Regions from separate parts of the Homo sapiens genome. Here region 2 is linked to region 1. The links are contacts of gene promoters, found by promoter capture Hi-C in blood cells and fetal thymus (Javierre and others, 2016). All regions are on one chromosome and are shown on one strand. Each heading gives the region's core, a stretch centred on a gene start or on the middle of the fragment in contact. The rest is flanking DNA. Distances are from core to core; before and after follow the strand shown.

Region 1 (5,425 bases), core at 925-3,424:
TCTTTTAAGCTTCTGAAACTCTGCATCCAGGGCTAACAAAGCCCATATTTAAGAAACATTTCCTGACTTCAAATATTTCCCCTCAACCTGTCTGCTTCAGGTCGACGTTCTCCACAATACAAGAATTTTTTTTTTTTTAAATTGAGACGGAGTCTCCCTCTGTCGCCTAGGCTGAGTGAAGTGGTGTGATCTCGGCTCAGTACCAACCTCTGCCGCCTAGGATCAAGCGATTCTCGTGCCTCGTCCTCCCGAGTACCTGGGACTACAGGCGTGCCCCACCACGCCTGGCTAATTTTTTTGTATTTTTAGTCGAGACGGGGGTTTCGTCATATTGGCCAGGCTGTTCGCGAACTCCTGACCTCAGGTGTGATCCGCCTGCTTCAGCCTCTCAAAGTGTTGGGATTACAGACATGAGCCACTGTGCCCGGCCAAGCATTCTTTTATATCACAATAAAATATCAGAGAAGGGGGAACTATCTTGGATAGACCATAAGAAGGTCACTTATTTACAAGAGAAACTGGGTCTTGGAGAACTCTTCTAGCCTGTTCCCATTAGGACAAACCGCATTTATCAAACTACACAGCACAATGGTAGTAGTTGGGGAATGGAAACGTGTGTGTGTTAGGGGAGAGGAGCAACGAGGTTCAGTGCTATGCCACAACCTGTGGAGGTGGGCCAGGAGGGCTGGCTCTGAGTGATGAACTGGAGAAGTCAACTGCCCAAAGAAGAGTGGTAAAAACTGTTAGAGAGTAAAAGAAAACCCCCACGTCTATCAGGCCTATTTTAGCGCTGGCTATCTTTACAGTCATCATTACTGTATCAAACCAACTCCTTTACCTTGGCTGATGCGGTATTTTCATCCCTGGTTGAGATGATCAAGCCTCTCTGTAAAACTACTTTCCAAGCAAAATGCTTCTGAGAAGTATAAATGTATTTTTAAAAATAGGCTCAAATCCTATGAAAAAAAAGTTTATACAAATACACATTCTAATGATATTTAAAAAGTATTACCTGAGGTAATTCAGTAACAGTTGTTCTTTCAGGAAACTTCTCTTCCCATAGCAAATCATTTTCTTGATTAGAATCTAAAAACTGAGGTTAAATATATTCTCCTTTAAAATTTAAAGGATGCTGAAGTTTGCGTTAAATATGTACAGAGCCTCACCTGGCATACATGTTTCTCAATAAACGCAAGTACACCTAAATTCAGAGGCACCCCATCCAATCTATGAGTTTCAACACTTCAGTTTTGTGTCTGAACTTTAGTATCAAAATTGAGGGGAACAGGGACCGGCGTTTCAAACCGAAAGATCCAAAAGGCTTTGGGTAAGACAGATGCTAGTGAATTCTGACCCCACGAATCCTCGACATTCCCCCATCTCCAGAATAATTTGGAGTGCGTGAGAGAAGGGAGGCCCTAAATCACGGGGGAAGCAGGGCTTGTCACCTGCCCCATCGAACAGCGTCCTTGCAAGATGGGGGCTCTCAGGGTTTTTCGAGCTCTTTTCCAAGTCACCTCTAAGTCCTCTCCAAGGGGCTCCTCGCTGCCCTCTGGGGCCCCCTCACTTTCCTCGGGAACGCGTCCCGTGAGCACAGCCCGCAGCGGGGTAGCCAGGGGAGCGCTCTTCCCACAAACCCGGCCTTGCCAGAATCGCGGCTCCCAGGGCGGGGTACCCTAAGGCCACGGGCGGCCGAAGTCTTCGCGCCCATTTCCTTGCCTCGAACGCGAGGACTTTCCATCCCCCATTCACAGCTGGCTCAACCCACGAAAGACAAGAGCCCCTTGGCGGCCAGGCTACAAGACACTCACCGGGACCGGGGCCTCCGGCTGCTCGCGGGCCGGCCCGTCGGGGGGCTCCGCGGCGACCCGCGGTCGGTTGTCCAGGCGGGCGAAGGGGTTCCTCCGAGCAGCGGCCGGGCCGCCGCCGCTGCCACCGCCTCTGCCCCCCGCAGCAGGGAAAGGGCGAAGAGGCAGCCCCGCCACCAGGGCGGCTCGGCGGGCCGCCGGCTCCGTCAGCTCACGGGGCGGGGAGGCGGCAGCTCCACGGCTCCGGGCCCTTTTCCGTCGGAGCCGCACTACCTCGGGCGGCTTTCGGAAGCCCGGTGAGTAGCCGGGCACCGAAAGGGCCATGACGCGCGGCGGCTGAGGGTAGCCGGCCGCCCTACAGAGACTTCCCGCGCGCGCCGGGCCCGCCCCTGACGTGGCGCCTCGCCGAGCTCCCGCCCCCGACGCGGCCCCGCCTCCGCCCCCGCCGGTTCCGAGCGGAGCATGCGCAGTGGGCAGCCCGCGAGACGCAGCCCGCAGCGGCGATCCCGGGTGGCCGTCAACGCCCACTGTCCCAGCGGTGACCCTGCCCTGGCGCTTCTGCCAGGTCCTCGGCCAGAGTCCAGTCGCCAGGTTCAGCGACGCTTCTGGAAAGTATGCGATCCAGGGCGCTGATGTGCACTACCCTGTGGGGCACCGAAATAGCTTAACTCTATTTAAGCCCGCAGCAGGGATGTGATCAGCCCGGGGTTTGGCGCCTGGATGAAAAGGAAACAAACTTGAGCTGCGGCGATGGGCTGCTGCTTCCATAAACTTAAGAGAGGGCAGTGGCTACTGCTCTCAAGAGGCGAGGAGAGGGGACTAGGCCACCTTCCTCAACCCCCAGAGAACTCAGATAAGACGTCAGCACGCTTCCTATGCCAGCGCAGCCTACCGACATCCCTCCCTTCCCCGTTCCCAGTGCCTGGTCATCTCAGACTTCCAGGCAGCTGCCACTGGCAAGTTAATGGGATCTTCTTTGATCCTGGGGAAAGCCGGAGTGAATGAATAGTTGAAAACACAAAATTTAAGTGCCTATGGGCTAAGTCTTTTAAGACTTCAAAATATACTCAAATGCTTAAATTATGACAGCAAAGACTTAAGGAAGGTGTTGAGAACGGAGTTGATACAAAATTAATACGTTACTTTGATAGCTTAGCAAAGGCCTGCAACAGCTTTTATCAAGAGTAGTGTGACTTTTGCTGAAAGCAGCAGTTTTCTTCATGGAAGGAATTTTATAGCAGGGGCAAAATATATAGAAACAATGAAAAGGTTTTTAGAAAAATTCCCTTAAGATGTTAATTATAGAATTATCTTGATCATTTGCACAAGAATTTTTCAAACACTTTTCAAATGTGTCAACTGAGCATCTTGTCTTAGCAGAGAAACGTGCTTAAAAATGCAACTTGTTTTATCTTCCTTGGTTTTTCTCAACAATTTCCAAAGAAAATTCTGGCTTCAAATACTGGAATATGTTCATCCGACTGAGGTCTGAGAAAGAAGAAAATTAAAATTGAACAACTTGCTTTTTTCTTCCTTGATTTTTCTGAACAGCTTCCATGGAAACTTTTGCCTCATACAGTGGAATGGGTTCATCCAACTGAGGTCTGAGAAGGAATGAAATTAGAAATGTCAGGTCTAGTTAAAGATAAGTAGAACAAACAGGGTGGTATATGACAAATGCTAGTGCTCAAATCTATTAGTGTATTAATTAATTTTTTGAGACAGAGTCTGGCTCTCTCATCCAGGCTGGAGTGCAGTGGCACGATCTCAGCTCACTGCAACCTCCGGCTCCCGGGTTCAAGCAATTCTCATACTTCAGCCTCCTGAGTAGCTGGGATTACAGGCATGCACCATCAAGCCTGGCTAATTTTTGTATTTTTAGTAGAGATGGGTTTCACCATGTTGGCCAGGCTGGTCTTGAACTCCTAGCCTCAAGTGATCCACCCACCTTAGCCTCCCAAAGTGCTGGGATTACAGGCATGAGCCACTGCACCCGGCCTCAAATCTATTACTTTAAGTAATTCAAACAAATTCGTCCATTAGTGTTTCCAATGTTAAAAGTGGTTAAGTTTTGAAGGAAAAAAATTATCTACTTTATTTACTCCCTCTTTTTTTCTGAGACGGAGTTTCTCTTGTTGCCCAGGCTGGAGTGCAATGGTGTGATCTCGGCTCACTGCAACCTTCACCTCCCAGGTTCAAGCAATTCTCCTGCCCCAGCCTCCCAGTAGCTGGGATTATGGGCGTTCGCCACCACGCTCAGCGAATTTTTCTATTTTTTAGTAGAGACAGTGTTTTGCCATGTTGGCCAGGCTGGTCTCGAACTCCTGATCTCAGGTGATTCACCCACTTCAGCCTCCCAAAGTGCTGGGATTACAGGCGTGAGCCACCACGCCTGGCCTACTCCCTCTTTTATAACTGATAAACATATTCAACTTTAAACAAATATACCATGGTTTTCTCTCCTTCAAGCTATTGGTTACTTCAAGTTGCTTTGGGAGGGGTGATGAGGAAAAGCAAAGGGTGAGGTACACTACATAATGGAGTGAGGAAAACTCACAAGCCACTTCTATCTCTGCGAGTACCTACTGGTGTACCACCAGATACACTTTGATAAATATTAAAGAGCAGCTATTTAAACGAAATATAAGATCAGTGCAAAAGTAAATGCAGTTTTTGCCATTACTTTCAATGGCAAAAACCACAATTATGTTTGCACCAACCTAATAATAAAATATGGAGGCAACAGGTACATGGCGAGAGCTAAAACAAAAGTGGGACTGCCTGCCTTAGCTCCCTGAAAATAGAAAAACAAACAAGAACAATGATTTGGTTACTTTAGCGTACCTGAAAACACCAGTTGATAACTTCTCCATCACATCCTTTAAGATACGTAGCTGGAAGGATTGTTAAGGTGGCAATGTAAAGGAGAATTAAATAAAACCATTCAATAAGCAGAGGATGCCAGGCAGGCCACTTTCTCTTGTTTCAAGTTTTGCACTCTCAGAGACTCAACATGTTAAGTTAGAGAAATTCTGTAGGACGTCAAGTTTAGCTCTACAACAGGGAAATGATTTGAGAGTTGGTGGTGTAATAGAGCCTAAATTTCCAAGGACAAGTGACAAGAGCAGCAAGTCAAGCCTGGTGCTTATCCTAAGTGCTCACCACTATTATCTCAATGGATGCGAATGAAATAGTGTCTAGTTTTCATTTCTACACTACATATGGCATTTTTAGTTAAAAACAATTTTAGCACGTATATATCTTACTTTAGATGTACATTCGTTGACCAGGCTGGTTGGTTAATGGGCTCAAAATTTGTTTGCAGAAGCCAGTAAACTTTATGTGTGTATGATATACAGTCATCCCTCACGCATCCATGAGGGATTGGTTCCAGGACCCCCATGAAGACCAAAATCTCCAGATACTCAAGTCCCTTATAGAAAATAGTGCAGCAGCTTGGGAAACAAGGCTCTCTACAAAAAAATTAAAAATTAGCCAGGCATGGTGGCATGTGCCTGTTGCCCCAGCTACTGGGGAGGCTGAGGCAGGAGGATCCCTTGAGCACATGGGTTTGAGGTTACAGTGAGCTGGAATGAGCACTGCACTCCAGCCAGGGC
Region 2 (5,425 bases), core at 1,507-4,006, 760 kb before region 1:
TAACAGCAGTAGCAACAAACAACAGCAGGTTTTCAGGCTCCACCTACGATGCTGTGTTTTGATGAAAAGGTTACTGTGCACTGTATTTTATTTTTTTAGATGAGAAGAAACTTCAGAAGCAATTGAGAGACCAGGAAGTGGGTCCTCTGGGGCTCAGGAGGCATTCTGATGGATGGCTTTTAAAGATGTTTCCTCCAGAATCAACTGCCTCGTTAAAGCATAAATGTCAAGCGTAAATTGTTCTTGTCTTAGAAGTCTCTCTTTGACTTTATAAACCTGATATGATTTATTGTTCTGTTATGAATGCGTGGTGCTCTAGTCCTTCAATGAGCCCATCACACGTTTTCATTATGTCGTCTAGAGGCAATTTTTCTGCAGTGTTAACTATGTTATCTTCAGCATTGTGCACCTGCATTTTGACTGCGACCCATCACACGAGGTCAGGTGAGAAATCTTCCACTTGTGGCATCATGTTGGTGCTTAAAATTTTCAGATTTTGGAGTATTTTGGATGTGAAATTTTAAGATTAGGGATGCTCAGCCTGTCATAGATGGTGCAGCCACCTCGGAAAACAGTCTGACAGTTCCTTGAAAGGTTAAAGATAGAGTTACCATATGACCAGGCAATTCCACTGGGAGGTATGTACCCAAGAGAAGTGAAATACATGTTCACACAAAAACTTGTACATGAATGTTCATAGCAACATTATTCATCATACCCCAAAGTGGTGACAACCCATGTCCATCAACTGATGAATAGATAAATAAAATGTGGTATATCCACACAATGGAATATTATTCAGCACCGAAAAAGAATGATGTACTGATACATACTGCCACATGGATAAACCTTGAAACATTATCTAAGTGCAAAATGCCAGTGTGAAAGCACCACATATGGTATGATTTCATTTATATGAAATGTCCAGAATAGGAAAATCCATAGAGACAGAAAATAGATTGGTGATTTCCTAGGGCTGGAGGTGAGATGAAATGGGGAATGACTGCTAATGGGCATGGGTTTATTTTTGGGGTGATGAAAAGCTTCTAAAATTGATTGTGGTGATGGTTACACAATTCTGTGAATACACTAAAACCAACGAAGTTTGCACTTTACATGGGTGAATTGTGTAGTATTTGAATTATGTCTCATTAAAGCTGTAAAGAAGAAGTAATTGAAGAAATCAGAAAGGAAATGTATTAGATAAACAGAACTGATAGGCTATATATAGATGTAAAGAAAGGGATTTATTATGAGGGATTAGCTCACATAATTGTGGAGGCTGAGAAGTCCCTCCATCTGCCATTTGGAAGTTGAAGGTCCAGGAAAGCCAGTGGTATAGTTTCAGTCCCAGCCCAAAAGCCTGAGACCCAGAGGAACCAATGATGTGAGTCTAAGTCTGAGCCCAAAGACCCGAGAAGCTGGAGAGCTGATGTCCAAGGGCAGAAGAAGACGGATGTCCCAGCTGAAGCAGAGAGAGCCAATTCACCCTTCCTCCATCAGCTATTTGCTTGTTAATCCTGATTGTGCAAATAGCTCAGTGTGCAAAATATATGTCTAAGAGGGAGAGGAGGCTGGGCGCGGTGGCTCACGCCTGTAATCCCAACACTTTGGGAGGCCGAGGCGGGCGGATCACGAGGTCAGGAGATCGAGACCATCCTGACTAACACGGTGAAACCCTGTCTCTAATAAAAATACAAAAAATTAGCTGGGCATGGTGGTGGGCGCCTATAGTCCCAGCTACTCGGGAGGCTGAGGCAGGAGAATGGCGTGAACCCGGGAGGCGGAGCTTGCAGTGAGCCGAGATCGTGCCACTGCACTCCAGTCTGGGCAACAGAGCGAGACTCCGTCTCAAAAAAAAAAAAAAAAAAAAAAAAAGACGGAGAGGACACACAGGAGATCTGGGCGACGAACTAGCTCTGTTATTTAAACAACCATTGTAAAAGTTGTTTATGTATCCAGGTGGAGAGCCACTGATGAGGGAACTTGCTGGGCTTAGTTTCTGAGTCTCCACCAAACCTGTGCCTTCTGCTAAGCTGGGGATCTGCTAGCTGCCTACTAAAGGACGGGTGCCTGGAATCCACTGACAGTTTCACATACGGTGTGTTCTGGGGCATCAGCCACCTAGCTGGGGAGAGGGCCCTGGCTCAGAAGACTATGAGGGTGCACAGGAATAACTGGGGCTCCGTCACCCAAGGGAGGGTGCCTGTAGGACTCAGTTTAAGGGACAGTTTCAACCTCCTGGTGCCATCTTTCACTTATGTCCCACACTTCCAGTTAGTCTTGTGCCTCATCTAAATAACCACACCCTGATATTTGCCAAACTGGACCATGAGCATCCCCTCAGATTCTGCTTCAAACCATAGCTGAGCAGGCAACTCCGTATAGGCCCCAAGGCATGTGTATTTCTGATCAAGTCCTCCACCTACTGGTGACACTTGATTCTCACGTCCCTAGGGTTTACCAACAACACTTGTCTTTCCAGACTGTTCTATTAGAGTGTATGCTGACACTCCTCCATAACGACAACAACAAAAAATTAATGCCTGTTAGAGGCGCTATCCATGAAGCAGCAACAGGAGACTGACTGCTTTTGCTATGAGCCAGAGTCTGATGTGATAAAACCAGAAACAAAAACCAGCCTCTTGTCTTGGTGAAAAAGGGGGCCACTAGGCAAAAGGATGGCGAGAAAGGCCACCTGCATTCCTCATTCAAATTCTTCCTCATTCCTTGATTTCTCTCAACAGGTAGCCATCAAATCTGAGATTCGGTGTTGTTATAAATCTCTTCAAGAATATTGGGGAAGAGGCTGGGCATGGTGGCTCACGCCTGCACTTTGCGCCTCCCAGCACTTTGGGAGGCTGAGGAGGGCAGATCATGAGGTCAGGAGTTCAAGACCAGCCTGGTCAACATGGTGAAAACCCGTCTTCTACTAAAAATACATAAATTAGCTGCGTGTGGTGGCAGGAGCCTGTAATCCCAGCTACTTGGGAGGCTGAGGCAGGAGAATAGCTTGAACCCGGGAGGCGAAGTTTGCAGTGAGCTGAGATCATGCCACTGCACTTCAGCCTGGGAAACAGAGTGAGACTCCATCTTAGAAAAAAAAAAAAGGACTATTGGGGAAAAAATAGCAAACCCTGGACATTTCAGATCACTAAACTACCCCTTGTGTGACTTGCTCAAAATAATGTTATTACAAACTCATGGAATATTACTGGCTTTAGGCGATGACACAGTTGCAGTAATGTTCTGATTTGATTATTCAGAAATGAAATTTATGGTTTAAATTTCATCCAGGATTTATAGAATTTAAAAAAGTTATTCTTCAGTATTTGAAATACCACTTTGCCAAAGCAGAAAAGCCATAAATGTGTTAAACTGGCTAAGAAAATTAAGATGGCAGTAATACATTTTCTAATAAAAATCATAGCATAATAGCAAAATTACTGCGGAAAACCACAGTTATTGTGGCAAAGACATAAAATGTTACAGCTGCAATAATATGCTATTTGTTTTGGCAGGAGAATAAGAATACTGTACATTGCAGTTTTTCAATATTGGAAAAACATAAGAAAATACTATAAACTTAAAAGACTATTTTTTAAAAATGAAGAAGTGCATGAATGATTTTAAATTTTGAGCATATAAAAGAGTCTTGCTGCAAAGTCTATTGAACTCCTGAGAAGACTCTGTTTTGCTGTTTCTGATTTGCCAGTATCCTACCAGAAAACTATGCCTCCCAATAGAAAAAGAACACATAATCCTGTCTGTATTTGAGGGTTCAAGCCTGGAGATTCCGCCCCCTTGGTCGGTTGATTTTTATTGGAAACCCAAGATGCACCTGCCTGTGGAATGCATTTCAGAATGTGGAAGTACAGCAGGAAGAAAGCAGACAAGAACACAATCCCATGGTATTCTTGGTTAGGGACAGCTTGGGGGTCAGTGGGGGAGACATACACAGATTAAATGATTAATAGAGTAATTCAGCTTATTTACATTAGTCTGGTTTTTTACATGAGGGGCTCACAAATTCTTAATTTGTCCTTTCTTTATTATATTTTTCTTTTTTGCTATCTTTCAATATTGATTATCCATTTCTTCCCTTAATTACTAGACTTTCTGAACTTTTAAAAACATATATCTTCCAACTGGAAAGTATCTGTCCCTTATAACAACTACCAGTACTACTCATAAAACAACAAAAACCCATATAGCACTTAATAAGTGTCAGTCAGTATTTTAAACAGTTTATGCATATTATTCATTTAATCCTCTCAATGACCCTGTGAGAAGGTGCCATTATTCTCCTTATTTTTCATACGTGGAAAGTAAAGAGTAGGGAGAAACTGTCCAAGCTCACACAGCTAGTAAGTCATAGAGCTGAGACTGGAACCCAGATAGCCTGGCCCCAGAGTCCTTCACTATTCTGAATTTATAAAGATATTTTTGATATTTTCTTCCCAAAGTTTTAAAGCTTTCCTTTTCACATTGGAGTTTTAAATCTATCTATAATTAATTTTGAGTATGGCATGATTTAGGTATAACTTTTTATATGAAAAACTAATTTTCCCAGTTCTATTTATTGATATGCAAATATAAAATGTCTCTCTTTCTCTCTCTATATATATATCTGAGGTTGTTTTTGAGTGCTTTATATTCTTGCTTTGGTCTGAAAATTCACAGGTTGAAATTCTAACTCTTGAGACGATGGTATTAGAAAGCAGGGCCTTTGGAAGGCGATTACGTCATAAGGGTAGAGCCTTCAGGAATGGGACTTAGTGCCCTTAGAAGAAGCTGAGAGACCAGCGTTTTCTCTCTTCCATCATGTGAGGACACAGCAAGAAGGCACCATCTATGAACCAGAAAGTGCCCCTCACCAGACATCAAATCTGCTGGCACCTTGATCTTGAACTTCCAGCCTTTAGAACCATGAGGAATAAATGTCTGTTTTTATAAGTCATCCAATAGGTGATGTTTTGTTATAGGGCCTGAGTAGTCTTAGACAGTTACAGATGATTCGCTCTCACTGACTGTTGAATATTATTCTAAGTGTGGATATTACACAATTTATTTACCCATTCTACTATTTTAATTTTATTTTTTTTAATGTTTGAGACAGGATCTTGGTCTGTCACCCAGGCTAGAGTGCAGTGGCACAATCATGGTTCACTGTATCCTCCAACTTCTGGGCTTAAGGGTTCCTACCACCTCAACCTCCTGAGTAGCTGGGACTACAAGAATATGCCAACATGCCCAGCTAATTTTTCATCTTTAAAAAAAAATTATTTTGTAGAGTGGGATCTCACTATGTTGCCCAGGCTAATCTTGAACTCCTGGGCTCAAGCGATCCTTCTGCCTTGGCCTCCTAAAGTGCTGGGATTATAGGCGTGAGCCACTGTACCTAGTCCCATTCTACTATAGATGG

Evidence for each region. The method cuts DNA at HindIII sites, captures the fragments that hold promoters and counts their contacts. A CHiCAGO score of 5 or more calls a contact.
Region 2: a fragment that was not itself captured here is called in contact with the fragment with the promoter of DONSON in region 1 in 1 of 17 cell types (total B cells); the score reaches 6.9 in total B cells.

Annotation. Positions count from the first base shown.
Region 1 is chr21:33,586,510-33,591,934 of GRCh38, forward strand. It overlaps DONSON (DNA replication fork stabilization factor DONSON), which reads right to left and starts at 2,175. Exons shown (of 10, transcript NM_017613.4): 1 at 1,812-2,175; 2 at 1,013-1,093. The coding sequence starts at 2,132. It overlaps CRYZL1 (crystallin zeta like 1), which reads right to left. Exons shown (of 13, transcript NM_145858.3): 12 at 4,653-4,698; 13 at 2,832-3,412. The coding sequence ends at 3,313. RefSeq lists a silencer at 1,716-2,405 and an enhancer at 1,864-2,363. The HindIII fragment of the contact is 12,197 bases long and covers 8-5,425 here.
Region 2 is chr21:32,824,358-32,829,782 of GRCh38, forward strand. No RefSeq gene overlaps it. Among named protein-coding and RNA genes, the nearest start is that of EPCIP, 13 kb to the left of the region's middle. The HindIII fragment of the contact is 3,431 bases long and covers 1,042-4,472 here.